Regions from separate parts of the Homo sapiens genome. Here all the other regions are linked to region 2. Evidence: promoter capture Hi-C in human tissues and cell types (Jung and others, 2019). All regions are on one chromosome and are shown on one strand. The core of a region is centred on a gene start or on the middle of the fragment in contact, and the rest is flanking DNA. Distances in the headings are between cores, read along the strand shown. Region 1 has its middle 20 kb from the start of ALDH3A1. Region 2 holds the start of RNF112 (ring finger protein 112). Region 3 overlaps ULK2 (unc-51 like autophagy activating kinase 2). Region 4 overlaps SLC47A2 (solute carrier family 47 member 2).

Region 1 (2,931 bases), core at 14-2,513, 360 kb after region 2:
CAGCAAGGAACCAGAACTTGGTTTTGCAAAAATCAATATGCTTACATAGCCCTGCTGAGAGACAGGGCAACAGCCCAAGGCCTGGCTCCCCGGCACTGTAGGCAGCTGTTGCTAGGAACAGGGGCATCAGATCCCAGCATGGCAGGGAGAGCTTCACTTTGCTTGCTGCCACCATTTGTTGAGCACTTGCTAAATGCCAGGCACTGTGCAAAGAGCATTTTCCCCACACAGGTAGGATTAGAAAGTAGTAGTCCTCTTATCTTCTCTAATGGATGGAAAAACTGAGGCTCAGGATGGGAAGGTAACTTGTCCAAATAACACACAGGAAGATTAAAAGTAGAACACCTCATTTCTCAAAGCAGCAGAAAAACAAGTATGTTCCAAAACTACCAATGGAGAAAAATTTGCATGCTGTAAACTAACAGTTCATTAAATTCTGTTTAAGGCTGGATGCGGTGGCTCACGCCGGTAATCCCAGCACTTCAGGAGGCTGAGACTGGCAGATCACCGGAGGTCAGGAGTTCAAGACCAGACTGGCCAACATGGCGAAACCCCGTCTCTACAAAAAATGTAAAAATTAGCTGGGCGTGATGGCACAAGGCCTGTAATCCCAGCTAATGGGGAGGCTGAGGCAGGAGAATCACTTGAACCCAGGAGGCAGAGGTTGCAGTGAGTCAAGATCATGCCACTGCACTCCAGCCTGGGCGACAGAGACTCTGTCTCAAAAAAAAAAAAAAAAAAAAGAAAGAAAGAAAACAATGGAAAATTCCAGAAATAAACAATTCCTAAGTTTTAAGTTGCACACCATTCTGAGCAGTGTGATGTAGTCTTCTGCCATCCCACTTGGGACACAAATCATTCCCTTTGTCTGTCATGTCCACGCCGCATATGTGATCCACCCTATACTATGTGATTGTATAGAGAAAAACAGCATACATATATGGTTTGGCAGTTTCCAAGGTTTCAGACATCCACTGGGGGGTCTTGGAGCATAACCTCATGAATAAGGTGGGACTCCTGCAGTTGCGACAGAGACCAGACAGTCTTCAAAACCTAAAATATTTGTATTTTTCAGTACAGGAAAAGCTTGTCAACCCCTGGTCTACACACCTGGTTATCTTGGACCATCCTGCCCCAGACTTCCTCCGTAACAACCCATATAATGTTTCTATGACCATAGACGTAAAAGGAAACTGTGACCTTTACCAAAATAAGCAACTTATTTTTCACAAATTACTTATGTAATAAGCATCCTGTTTCCAAAACAGACCTCAGTTTTCAGGTCCGTTTTGAATTGACATTTGTCACACTGCTGACTCCTTTGTTACTGAGTGAACGATATATTCTTGAGACCAATTTTTCTAAGAAATGTTATTTTAGCACATGTTCCATGGAAAGGAGGGTTTACGTTTCCAAAATACAGATGTGACAAAGAGGAAGCACATCTGATGGCCAATGAGGAGAAACAACAGAGTGGATCCTGAGGCCTCCCGTGTCCTTTCAGCCTCCCTCTGCTACTCCCACTGCTGGCCACACCAGCCTCAGGGAGGGACTGCCATGTGCACTTTCCACGGCAGCTCATTTAACTCTTGCAGGAAACCCAAGAGGCATGTTGTGTTTCTGTCTCTGCTTTACTGACAAGGACAGGGAAGCCCAGGGAGTGAGGCGTCTCACCCAGGTCAGTGTCGGCGCACACAGGAGGCAACCAGGGCATGTGGCAGGGCCCCACAGGACACCAGGGCCTCTCAAACCCACTACCCTTTCAGGCCCCTCTGCTGCTCACCATTGGTGAAGTGGGGCTGTCAGGAGCAAAGAGAATTTCTGGATTTTCTCCTAACATTTTCCCCTACTTTAACCTCCCTTCATCTGTTGAATTTACTGCAAATCTTTCCTAGTCTTTTAGTTTTCCTATACTTAAAAAAACCTTGTTTTTAAAAATTACATAATTAGGCCAGGCACAGTGGCTCATGCCTATAATCCCAGCACTTTGGGAGGCTGTGGGCGGATCACCTGAGGTCAGGAGTTCGAGACCAGCCTGGCCAACATGGTGAAACCGTCTCTACTAAAAATACAAAAATTAGCTGGGCATGGTGGCACGTGCTTGTAATTCCAGCTATTCAGGAGGCTGAGGCAGGAGAATCACTTGAACCCAGGAGGCAGAGGTTGCAGTGAGACGAGATCACGCCATTGCACTCTAGCCAAGGCGACAGAGTGAGACTCCATCTCAAAAAAATACACACACACACACACACACACACAAAGTTAGCCAGCCGTGGTGGCACACACCTGTAATCCCAGTTAGTTGGGAGGCTTAGGTGGGAGAATAGCTGGAACCCATGAAGCAGAGGTTGCGTGAGCTGCGATCGTGCCACTGCACTCCAGCCTGCAGCCTGGGTAACAGAGTGACACTCTGTCTCAAAAAAAAAAAAAAAATTTTTTTTTAATTATATAAGCTCATGGTGAAAAATATCAGCATTATGGAATATAAAATTAAATGTCTCCTGTAATCCTAGCACTTTGGGAGGCTGAGGCGGTGGTTCATTGAAGGCCAGAAGTTTGAGACCAGCCTGGCCAACATGCTGAAACCCCATCCCTACTAAAAACACACAAAAAATTAGCCAGGCCTAGTGGTGGGCACCTGTAATCCCAGCTACTTGGGAGGCTGAGGCAGGAGAATCACTTGAACCTGGGAGGCGGACGTCGCAGTGAACTGAGATCGCACCACTGCACTCCAGCCTGGGTGACTGAACAAGACTCCGCCTCAAACAAACAAACAAGTCTCACCCACCCTCTAAAATAATTCCCATTTTCCAAGTCCATCAGACACTACAGATAGGGAAGGAAAACTTATTCCATTGGACACCCACAGATATATCTTTATCATCTTATAAACACTTAAAATGTATTCAAACCTTTTGTGCATACTTTCAT
Region 2 (3,164 bases), core at 162-2,661:
CTGAGTGTGAGGCTTTGCTGCCAACACACAGGGGCTTGTCCCACCTGGGGCAGGAGGAGGCAGAGTCTATGGCACTGCTTCTCTGAATCTGATTGATTCAGCCCCACAATCTCAGGCCCTCCAGACACCAAAATGAACAAGATCCAGCCCCAGCTTCAGGGGTGTCTCCACCTGCTGAAGGTGGTCTCTGCTGAACTTTTCTAGGTTCTGAATCCCACCTCACCCCAACCCTTCTGCATCCTAGCTCATAGGATGTACGAATGACTCCCGTGCCTGGACTAGTGGCTTTACATAGGTAATGGTGGCTCCTCAGAGCACAGAGAGGTGCAGTGGAGTCCCAGAGCCCCTGAGCCGAGAATCAAGCCCAGATCTGCCTGGCTCTGAAGCCTGGGCTGCGCCAAGCCTATCACATATCCCAGCCCTCAACTGTCCAAGAACAAGACCGCACCCAGTTGGGAGGGGTGAGGAAAGGAGGCTCTAGGGAGGCCACAGCACCTGCACTGGGCCTAAGAGGGTGTCCCAGGAGGGATGAGAAGGAGCAGAGCAGCCAAGCCAGGGTGCAGAGGCAGGGAAGAGTGGGGCGAGAGAAGGGTGGAAGGAAGGTTCAGCCCAGTCCGCAGGCCGGAGAGTTTGGATTTTGATCTGATGGTAGTAGGGAGACACAAAAGGTGTTTGCGCAGTGTGAGGTCATCTGTGCTTGGGGAGCCTATGCTGGCTGTGCACTGGGGAGTGGAAGGGAGGCAAGGAGCCCAGTCAAGAGGCCATTAGAAGGTCCAGAGGTGGCTCATAGTTTTGATAGATTTCATCCTGCTCAAGTTTGAGGCAGAGTGAAAGCTATTGGGAGGGAAATACACCAGAGGACACGGAGGGCCCATGAGTGCTGAAGAAGGCTGCAGCTGGGTTGGGCGTCGATGACATAAACCTGAGAGAGAGCAGGAGGATGTGCAGGGCCATGTGAAGTAGGGTCTGCATTTGGGGGCTCTGTACATAGTAGGTACTCAGTAACTGTTCATTGGATGAATGGATGAATAACTCCTTGTCTCTGGGTCAGCTCTGGTCTTACCCTCTCCTGTTTCTCACACCTCTTCTCTTTGCCCACCCTGTCCTGTGGCCCTGGGGAGACCTCAGCTGGCCCAGTAGAGGCAGTGCTGGCCCATGGTTCTGCCGGAGGCGCCTCCATGTTTGCGGGTGCACCGCACGCCTTCTCCCTCTCTGTCCCCCTCCCCCTCCCTGTCCTTATCTTTCCCTTCTGTCTCCATGGCGACTCACCACCTCGGCTTGCCTGCATCCCAGCCTCTGCCAGGGATTCTGAGCCGGGCTCCATCCCTCCCTCCTCGGAGCCCTGCTACCCGCAGCCGTGTCTCCTCCCCCTGGGGTGAGTCCAGCAGCAGCCTCCTCTTTCCTGACTGTCACATTTCTTTTCCAGCTCTGACCGGGAGTCAGCTCCTCGGGGATACCATCCCCCGACCTCACCTTCTACCTACCGCAGCCTGCTAGCCTTTCCGGGAGAAAAGGCATCCTTACCTCTGGTTGAAGGTCTCGGGGCCTCCCCCTCTGCATCCGGACCCTCTCCCCATCCCAGCCTCCCATGCCAAGGCCCGCCTTGTCAGTCACTTCCTTTTGTCATCGGCTTGGCAAACGGGCAAGTCTTCAGTCCTAAGATCGGGAAGGAGAGTGGGGTGGGAAGGGCCCTCCTTGGGCTGGGGGATGGGCCGGGGGTGGGGAGGATGAGGGGTCCCTGGAAATCCAGGGTGAAGATAGAAGTCTGGATTATGTTCTAAATCTTTTTTTTTTTTTTTTTTCTCCAAGGAGAGAAAACAGAGCTTCATGGGAAACAGCGGCAACAGTTGGTAAGTAGCAGGGCCTTCCAGGCTGGGATGGGTGCAGTGAGGCCAGGCAGGTCAGTTGAAATGGCCGGTCCTGGAACACAGAGCCCGGCAGCCCAGCCGGGAGGGCTGTCCGCCTGAGGCTGGATCCGCCAGGCTGTGGAGGGAGGGACAGGAAGAAGCAGGTGGGTGCTGCAGGGAGGCAGATGCCAGCTCAGAGCAGAGAGCGGAAGGAATCTTCTAAGATCCAGAGCCATCTGCCCAACTGCAGCACAGGCTGATGGCTTCTCCTCACTGTCCCTGTAGCATGGGGTTGTGGAGGGTATCATCCCTGGGGGCCTGGCTGAAGTCAGCACCTCATGGAGGGAGCCCCGCTGTAGAACGCCGGGAGAGGCTCTTCCCAAGCATTTGCACCAGGCACTGTGCAGACAGCTGCACACGCCTCCTCTCGGATGGCCACCCCAACGGCCCCATGAGGGGTATTGCTATCCTCTCCATTGGGACAGTTAGGAAATTGAGGCCCAGAGAGGGGAAGGAACTTGCTTGCATTTGCATGGCTGGGATGTGGTGGAGTCCATTCCACTCAGATTTTCTCCCTCTCAGACTCTCTCACCATTGCTCTGCTGCCCCCACTCTGAGGCCCCCAGGTCCTAGGACACATGTCAGTGAGGAACGGGCAGAGCTTGGCCTCTCTGGGAGCAGCTCCGCCTGTCCATGGAGGCACTGATGGAAATTGGGTTGGCACAAAGGGACCTCCACTCCCAAGCCATCAGTCTTCCACCACAACCCTGGCCGGTACCCCCTGCCCCCAATAGACATCCTGCTTTTCAATGGCCTGTTTTGCCCCACAGGTCCCATACACCTTTCCCCAAGTTGGAGCTAGGCCTGGGGCCCCAGCCCATGGCGCCCCGGGAGCTCCCTACCTGCTCCATCTGCCTGGAGAGGTTGCGCGACCCCATCTCGCTGGACTGTGGCCACGACTTCTGCATACGGTGCTTCAGCACACACCGTCTCCCGGGCTGTGAGCCGCCCTGCTGTCCTGAGTGCCGGAAGATATGCAAGCAGAAGAGGGGCCTCCGGAGCCTGGGCGAGAAGATGAAGCTCCTGCCGCAGCGGCCGCTGCCCCCTGCACTGCAGGTCTGGGGACTGGGCCTAATCAGTCAGACCCAAGAGGAGGGGGTGGCTTTGGCCCTATTCTAGAACATCAGGACACAGAGCTCCAGGCTGAACACATTCCAGGGTCAGGAGCTGGTCCTGGATGCTCAGGGGCCCCTCTCTTCTCCTGGCCCAGGAGACGTGTCCTGTGAGGGCGGAGCCGCTGCTGCTGGTTCGCATCAA
Region 3 (3,130 bases), core at 274-2,773, 450 kb after region 2:
TTGTAGTGAGCCGAGACTGTGCCATTGCACTCCAGCCTGGGCAACAGAGCAAGACTCCATCTCAAAAAAAAAAAAAAAAAAAAAGGAAAAAAAGTCTAAAGTAAGACCCCCCCACAAAAATACCAAACAAAATGGGAAAAATATCTCAAAACATGACAAAGAGCTATCAACTCTGATTCCCTCTTGTTTACCTCCTACAGTCCAAGTGCCCAAGTCCTAACAATTCTATCTCCTAAACATCTCACTAATCTGTCCAGGCCTCTGTCTCCATTGATACCAACATTCTTTCTTACCCAGATATAAATAGCTCTTTCTTTTTAATAACGGTATACACTGAGCATGGTGGCACAGGCCTGTAATCACAGCTACTCAGGAGGCAAAGGCAGGAAGATCGCTTGAGCCCAGGAGTTAGAGGCTGCAGTGAGATATGATGGCACCACAGAAGAAATGCACTCCAGCCTGAGTAACAGAGTAAGACCTCATTTCTAAATAAGTATTTAAAAATAAAAATAAATGTACAGTTCAATGTGTTGTGACAAATGTTTACACCTACGTATCTACCCTGCCAATCAAAATACATAACAATTCCATCACCCCAAGAAGTTCTCTCATGCCCCTTTCCTATCACTCCCTGGGACCAAGAGTCAACCTCTGTTCTGATTTCTATCACCCTAGCTTACTTCTGACTCTTCCCAAAATTCACAAAAACAGAATTATACTGTAGCAGTATATGGCATGCTTATTTTTCTCAAAATAATGTTTGAGGCCGGGCGCGGTGGCTCACGCCTGTAATCCCAGCACTTTGGGAGGCCGAGGCAGGCGGGTCACGAGGTCAGGAGATCAAGACCATCCTGGCTAACACAGTGAAACCCCATCTCTACTAAAAATACAAAAAATTAGCCGGGTATGGTGGCAGGTGCCTGTAGTCCCAGCTACTCAGGAGGCTAAGGCAGGAGAATGAGGGGAACCTGGGAGGCAGAGCTTGCAGTGAGCCGAGATCGCGCCACTGCACTCTAGCCTGGGCGACAGAGCGAGACTCCGTCACACACACAAAAAAAAAAAAGTTTGAAATTCACGTTATGACATGTATCGTTTGTTCCTTTTTATATATGTCAATTTGTTCATTGTATTATTTGCTATAAAACGAGTTTTACGGCCGGGTGCAGTGGCTCACGCCTGGAATCCCAGCACTTTGGGTGGCCGAGGCGGGCAGATCACAAGGTCAGGAGATCGAGACCATCCTGGCTAACACGGTGAAACCCCGTCTCTACTAAAAAATACAAAAACAAAATTAGCCAGGCATGGTGGTAGGCGCCTGTAGTCCCAGCTACTCGGGAGGCTGAGGTGGGAGAATAGTGTCAACCCAGGAGGTGGAGCTTGCAGTGAGCCGAGATCGCACCACGGCACTCCAGCCTTGGTGACAAAGCGAGACTCCATCTCCAAAAAAAAAAAAAAAAAAAAAAAAAAAGAGTTTTAAAATTTTTTATAGCCAGGCACGGTGGCTCACACCTGTAATCCCAACACTTTGGGAGGCCAAGACGGGCAGATCACCTGAGGTCGGGAGTTCGAGACCAGGCTGGCCAATACGGCAAAACCTCGTCTCTACCAAAAATACAGACATTAGCCAGGTGTGGTGGCGGGGCGCCTGTAATCCCAGCTACTCAGGAGGCTGAGGCAGGGAGAATTGCTTGAACCTGGGAGGTGGAGGTTGCAGTGGGCCAAGATCACGGCATTGCACTCCAGCCTGGGTGACAGAGTGAGACTCTGTCTCAAAAAAAAAAAAAAAAAAATGTTTTACATGTCCCTACTAGAGCTTCTGATACTACAGCTTCTGAGTTTCTTATCTTGATTTAAAATGTCTTTCCATCCCTTGGATTGTACAGTCATTTAAATATTATTCTGAGACTGTTATTGTTTACTTTATATATTTAAGCTTTTAATTCATTTGGAAATGATTTTGGAAAATGATGAGAATGGTGTTCCAATTCTATTTTTTGTCAGATGTCTCAGTTTTATGAGCACCACCTATTAAATTAATCATCTTTTTCTTGCGATACTAAAAATTACCAAGAGGTAGATATTTAACCAGGCCACTGACAATCACACAGTTATGTATTCCTAAGTGAAAGTACTTATCTCATGCTCAGAGTGCTCTAGGAGATTTATCTTTTGAAAAACAAAAACGGTATCACTCTCCTGCTTTTAAAACTCTTCAATAGCTTTGTACTGTCCTTAAGATAAAGATCAGATCTGGCTCCTGCTAACCTCTCCAGTATCATCTAACACTATGCTCTCGCTCTCATTACTGTACTCCAGACACACTAGCCTTCTTCCAGTTCCTCAAACTCAGTGATCTCTCCTGTCAGTGGTCTTTACAGAAGCCTTCATCTCCTTGGGAAACTTACTTTATTTTCTCCCATTAACCCCCACCTAGCCTTCTCCCACCCATCCCTCAGTCTCTACAGATATCATTTCCCCAGGAAGCCTTCCCTTGTCCCATTTTCCTAGGCCCCATATTGTTCAAACCTCGCCAAGAGCTCTCCCTTACAGCACTTGGCACACTTGGAAATAGTAACTATTGGCCCGGGTGTGGTGGCTCACGCCTGTAATCCCAGCACTTTGGGAAGCCAAGCTGGGCAGGTCGCTTAAGCTCAGAAGTTTGAGACCAGGCTGAGCAACATGGTGAAACTCCATCTCTACAAAAAATAGAAAAATTAGCCAGGCATGGTGGTGCCTGCCTGTAGTCCCAGATACTTTGAAGGCTGAGGTGGGAGGATGGCTTAAGCCCAAAGGGTGGAGGCTGCAGTGAGGTGTGGTCATGCCACCACACTCCAGCCTGGGCAAGAGAGCCAGACCCTGTCTCAAAAAAGAAAAAAAAAAGAAATAGTAACTATTTGCTTAATGTCATCTTCCCTAATATCCTGTAAGAGTTCCACAATGACAAGGACCATTTCTACTTTGTTCACCACTATACGCCTGTACATCTCATTAACCAGCTCAAGAAATACTAGTCACAAATAAACCAGTAAGAAAAATGAACACAACCTATGCATCATAGGACAGCAATGGGAACGTCACAGAAGAAATGTAAAAAGACAAATACAGCAAAAAGATGACTGATACCCTAATG
Region 4 (3,077 bases), core at 157-2,656, 290 kb after region 2:
GATCGTGCTACTACACTCCAGCCTGGGAGACAGAGCAAGACTCCGTCTCAAAGGAAAAAGATAATGACATTAATCCTTCTCTTAAAGGTCCCACCTCGACAGGGCACACTTTGGGAGACTGAGGCAGGAGGGTTGCTTGAGGCCAGGAGTTCAAGACCAGCCTGGGTGACATCATGAGACTTTGTCTCAAAAAAACAAAAAGACAACCAAAAAAAGTTCTATCTCTCAACACTGTTACATAAACATATGAACTTCGGAGGACACATTCAAACCAAAGCACTTAGCAAGCAAATACAACCAGCTACCAAATATTATATTTTCATATTTTTAAAATTTGTTTTATTTATTTTGTAGATTGAGACAGGGCCTTGCTCTGTCACCCAGCCCAGAGTGCAGTGATGCAGTCATAGCTCACTGCAGCCTTGAACTTCTGGGCACAAGCTATCCTCCCACCTCAGCCTCCCTAGTAGCTGGGACTACAGATATGCACCACTATGCCCAGCTTTTTTTTTTTTTTTTAATGTTTTGTAGAGATGGTATCTTGCCATGTCACCAAGGCTGGTCTTGACCTCCCGGGCTCAAGCCAACCTCTTTCTTTAGCCTCCCAAAGTGATGGTTTTATAGACTTGAGTCATCACACCTAGCCTACTTAATTTTTAAAATGGGCAAAAGACTAAAATAGAAATTTCACTGAAGGCTACATATGAATGAATGATAAACACACAAAAAGGGGCTCGTCATTAGAGAAATGCACACTGAGACCACAGTGACATAGTAGCATATCCCCACTGGGATGGCTGCAACAAGAAAGGAAAAGCCATCCAGCAGCTTGTTTTGTAGATATTGACAAACTGATTCTAAAGCTTATGTAGAAAGGGAAAAGACTCAAAACGCAACATTTACAAAGAAAAGCGATGTTGGAGGAGTGATACTACCCAATTTCGAGAATTACTATAAAGCTGCAGTGATCAAGACAGCATGGTAAAGTTGTCCACAAGGTCTTGTCTGTTGCATTATAGTCAACCCTAATGTCTATTAAATGGCTACTGTGTTTCAGACACTTTCATACATGTTAGCTCAGTTACTTCTCGTATCAGTACTTTTTTTATTATTTATTTTTTTGAGACAGAGTCTTGCTCTGTCATCCAAGCTGGAGTACAGTGGCGCAATATTGGCTTACTGCAACCTCCACCTCCCGGCTTCAAGCAATTCTCATGCTCAGCCACTGGAGTACCTGGGATTACAGACATGTGCCACCATGCTTGGCTAATTTTTGTATTTTTTGTAGAGACAGGTTTCGCCATGTTGGCCAGGCTGGTCTTGAACTCCTGACCTCAAGTGAGGACCTCCTTTGCCTCAGCCTCCCAAAGTCCAGGGATTACAAGCATGAGCCACTGCACCCAGCCTTGTATCAATACTTTATGTCAGGGTTGATTAAAAAAAATTCTTTTAATTTTGATAAAATACACATAAAATGTGCTGTCTTAAATGTTTTTAAGTGTACAGGTCAGCAGTGTTAAGTATATAGCCAGCCCTCCATACCCACAGCTTCTGCATCCGTGGATGCAACCAGCCATGGATCAAAAATATTTGAAAAACAATAATACAACAATAAAAAAATAAACAGCATAGCAACTGTTACATAGCTTTTACATTGTACTAGGAATTATAAGTAATCTAGAGATGATTTAAACTCATAGGAGGATGGGCATAGGTTATAGGCAAATTCTCTGCCGTTTTATATCAGGAACTTGAGCATCTGTGGATTTTGGTACCTTGCGGGGTCCTGGAACCAATTGCCCAAGGATACCTAGGAATGATTCTATTGGTGAAAGAATAGACAAAAAAGATCACTGGAATGGAAGAGAGAGCCCAGAAATAGACCCATACAAATACAGTCAACTGATTTTGACAAAGGAGCAAAGGCAACTGGAGAAAGCCTAGTTTTTTTTTTCCAAGAAATGGTACTGGAACAACTGGACATCCACATACAAAATAATGAATTTAGATATCCTGTTTTACAAAAGTTAAAACCACAGACATAAAAGCAACATGCAAAAGTATAAAACTCCTACAAAATAATAGAAAATTTAGGTGAATTTGGGTTACACCGTGACTTTTTAAAATTTTTTATTTTACTTTATTTTTAGAGATGGGGGTCTCACTCTGTTGCCCAGGCTGGAGTGCAGTGGTATAATCATAGCTGACTATAGCCTTGGACTGTTGGGCTCAAGCAATCCTCCTGCCTCAGCCTCCCAAGTAGCGAAGACTATAGGTGTGTGCCAACCCCGCCTCCCCGCCGACCCCCTCCCCCAGCTAATTTTTAAAAACTTTTGTAGAGATAGGGTCTCCCTATGTTGCCCAGGCTGGTCTCAAACTCCTTGGTTGAAATGATCCTCCCACCTCAGCCTCCCAAAGTGCTGGGATTACCAGCACTGGTATGCTGGCATGAGCTCTACTGCACCTGGCTGGCAGTTTCTTAAAAAGCTAAAAATAAAGTTATCATTTGACTTAACAGTTCAACTCCCAGAACTCTACTAAAAGAAATGAAAACAAATCCACACAAAGACTTCCACGTGAACATTCTAAACAGCATTATTGATGATAGCAAAAACTAGAAACAACCCAAATGTCCATCCACTGATGAATGGATAAACAAAGGCAGTATTTCCATACAATGGAACTACTCGGTAATAAAAGGAATGAAGCAGTGACGCATGCTGCAGCATTGATGAACCTCAAAAACAGTATGCTAAGGAGAAGCAGCCAGACACAGGACTGCATATCATAAGACCCTACTTATATGAAATTGTTCATACAGACAGAAAGCAATGCAGTGGATTGCCCAGGGCAGGAGATGGGAGCAGGGATTAACTACAAAACAGTCTCCAGGAAATTCTGCGGGGTGATGGAAAACTAGATGGTGGTGATGGTTACATAACTCCAAATTCATTTAAAATCACTGAGTTGTATACTTATATATGAATTTTATCATATGTAAATTATAACTCACTAAAAGTTTACAAAATATAAAAATAAGGCTCATGGAAAATGTAAATTAAGAAAAAACCGACTAG

What was found. The method cuts DNA at HindIII sites, captures the fragments that hold promoters and counts their contacts. A contact is called where the count stands out against the background at its distance.
Region 1: a fragment that was not itself captured here is called in contact with the fragment with the promoter of RNF112 in region 2 in 5 of the 25 tissues and cell types used here (dorsolateral prefrontal cortex, mesenchymal stem cells, ovary and 2 more).
Region 3: a contact is called between a fragment that was not itself captured here and the fragment with the promoter of RNF112 in region 2, in 2 of the 25 tissues and cell types used here (dorsolateral prefrontal cortex and thymus).
Region 4: a fragment that was not itself captured here is called in contact with the fragment with the promoter of RNF112 in region 2 in 2 of the 25 tissues and cell types used here (dorsolateral prefrontal cortex and lymphoblastoid cells).

Annotation. Positions count from the first base shown.
Region 1 is chr17:19,766,999-19,769,929 of GRCh38, forward strand. No RefSeq gene overlaps it. Among named protein-coding and RNA genes, the nearest start is that of ALDH3A1, 20 kb to the left of the region's middle. The HindIII fragment of the contact is 9,349 bases long and covers 1-2,931 here.
Region 2 is chr17:19,409,821-19,412,984 of GRCh38, forward strand. It overlaps RNF112 (ring finger protein 112), which reads left to right and starts at 1,412. Exons shown (of 14, transcript NM_007148.5): 1 at 1,412-1,642; 2 at 1,810-1,850; 3 at 2,678-2,963; 4 at 3,118-3,164. The coding sequence starts at 1,589. The HindIII fragment of the contact is 25,812 bases long and covers 1-3,164 here.
Region 3 is chr17:19,855,537-19,858,666 of GRCh38, forward strand. The region is part of intron 3 of ULK2 (unc-51 like autophagy activating kinase 2); the gene reads right to left. Among named protein-coding and RNA genes, the nearest start is that of TRG-CCC3-1, 3.8 kb to the right of the region's middle. The HindIII fragment of the contact is 7,474 bases long and covers 1-3,130 here.
Region 4 is chr17:19,697,249-19,700,325 of GRCh38, forward strand. All of the region lies in intron 13 of SLC47A2 (solute carrier family 47 member 2), which reads right to left. Among named protein-coding and RNA genes, the nearest start is that of SLC47A2, 18 kb to the right of the region's middle. The HindIII fragment of the contact is 3,572 bases long and covers 1-3,077 here.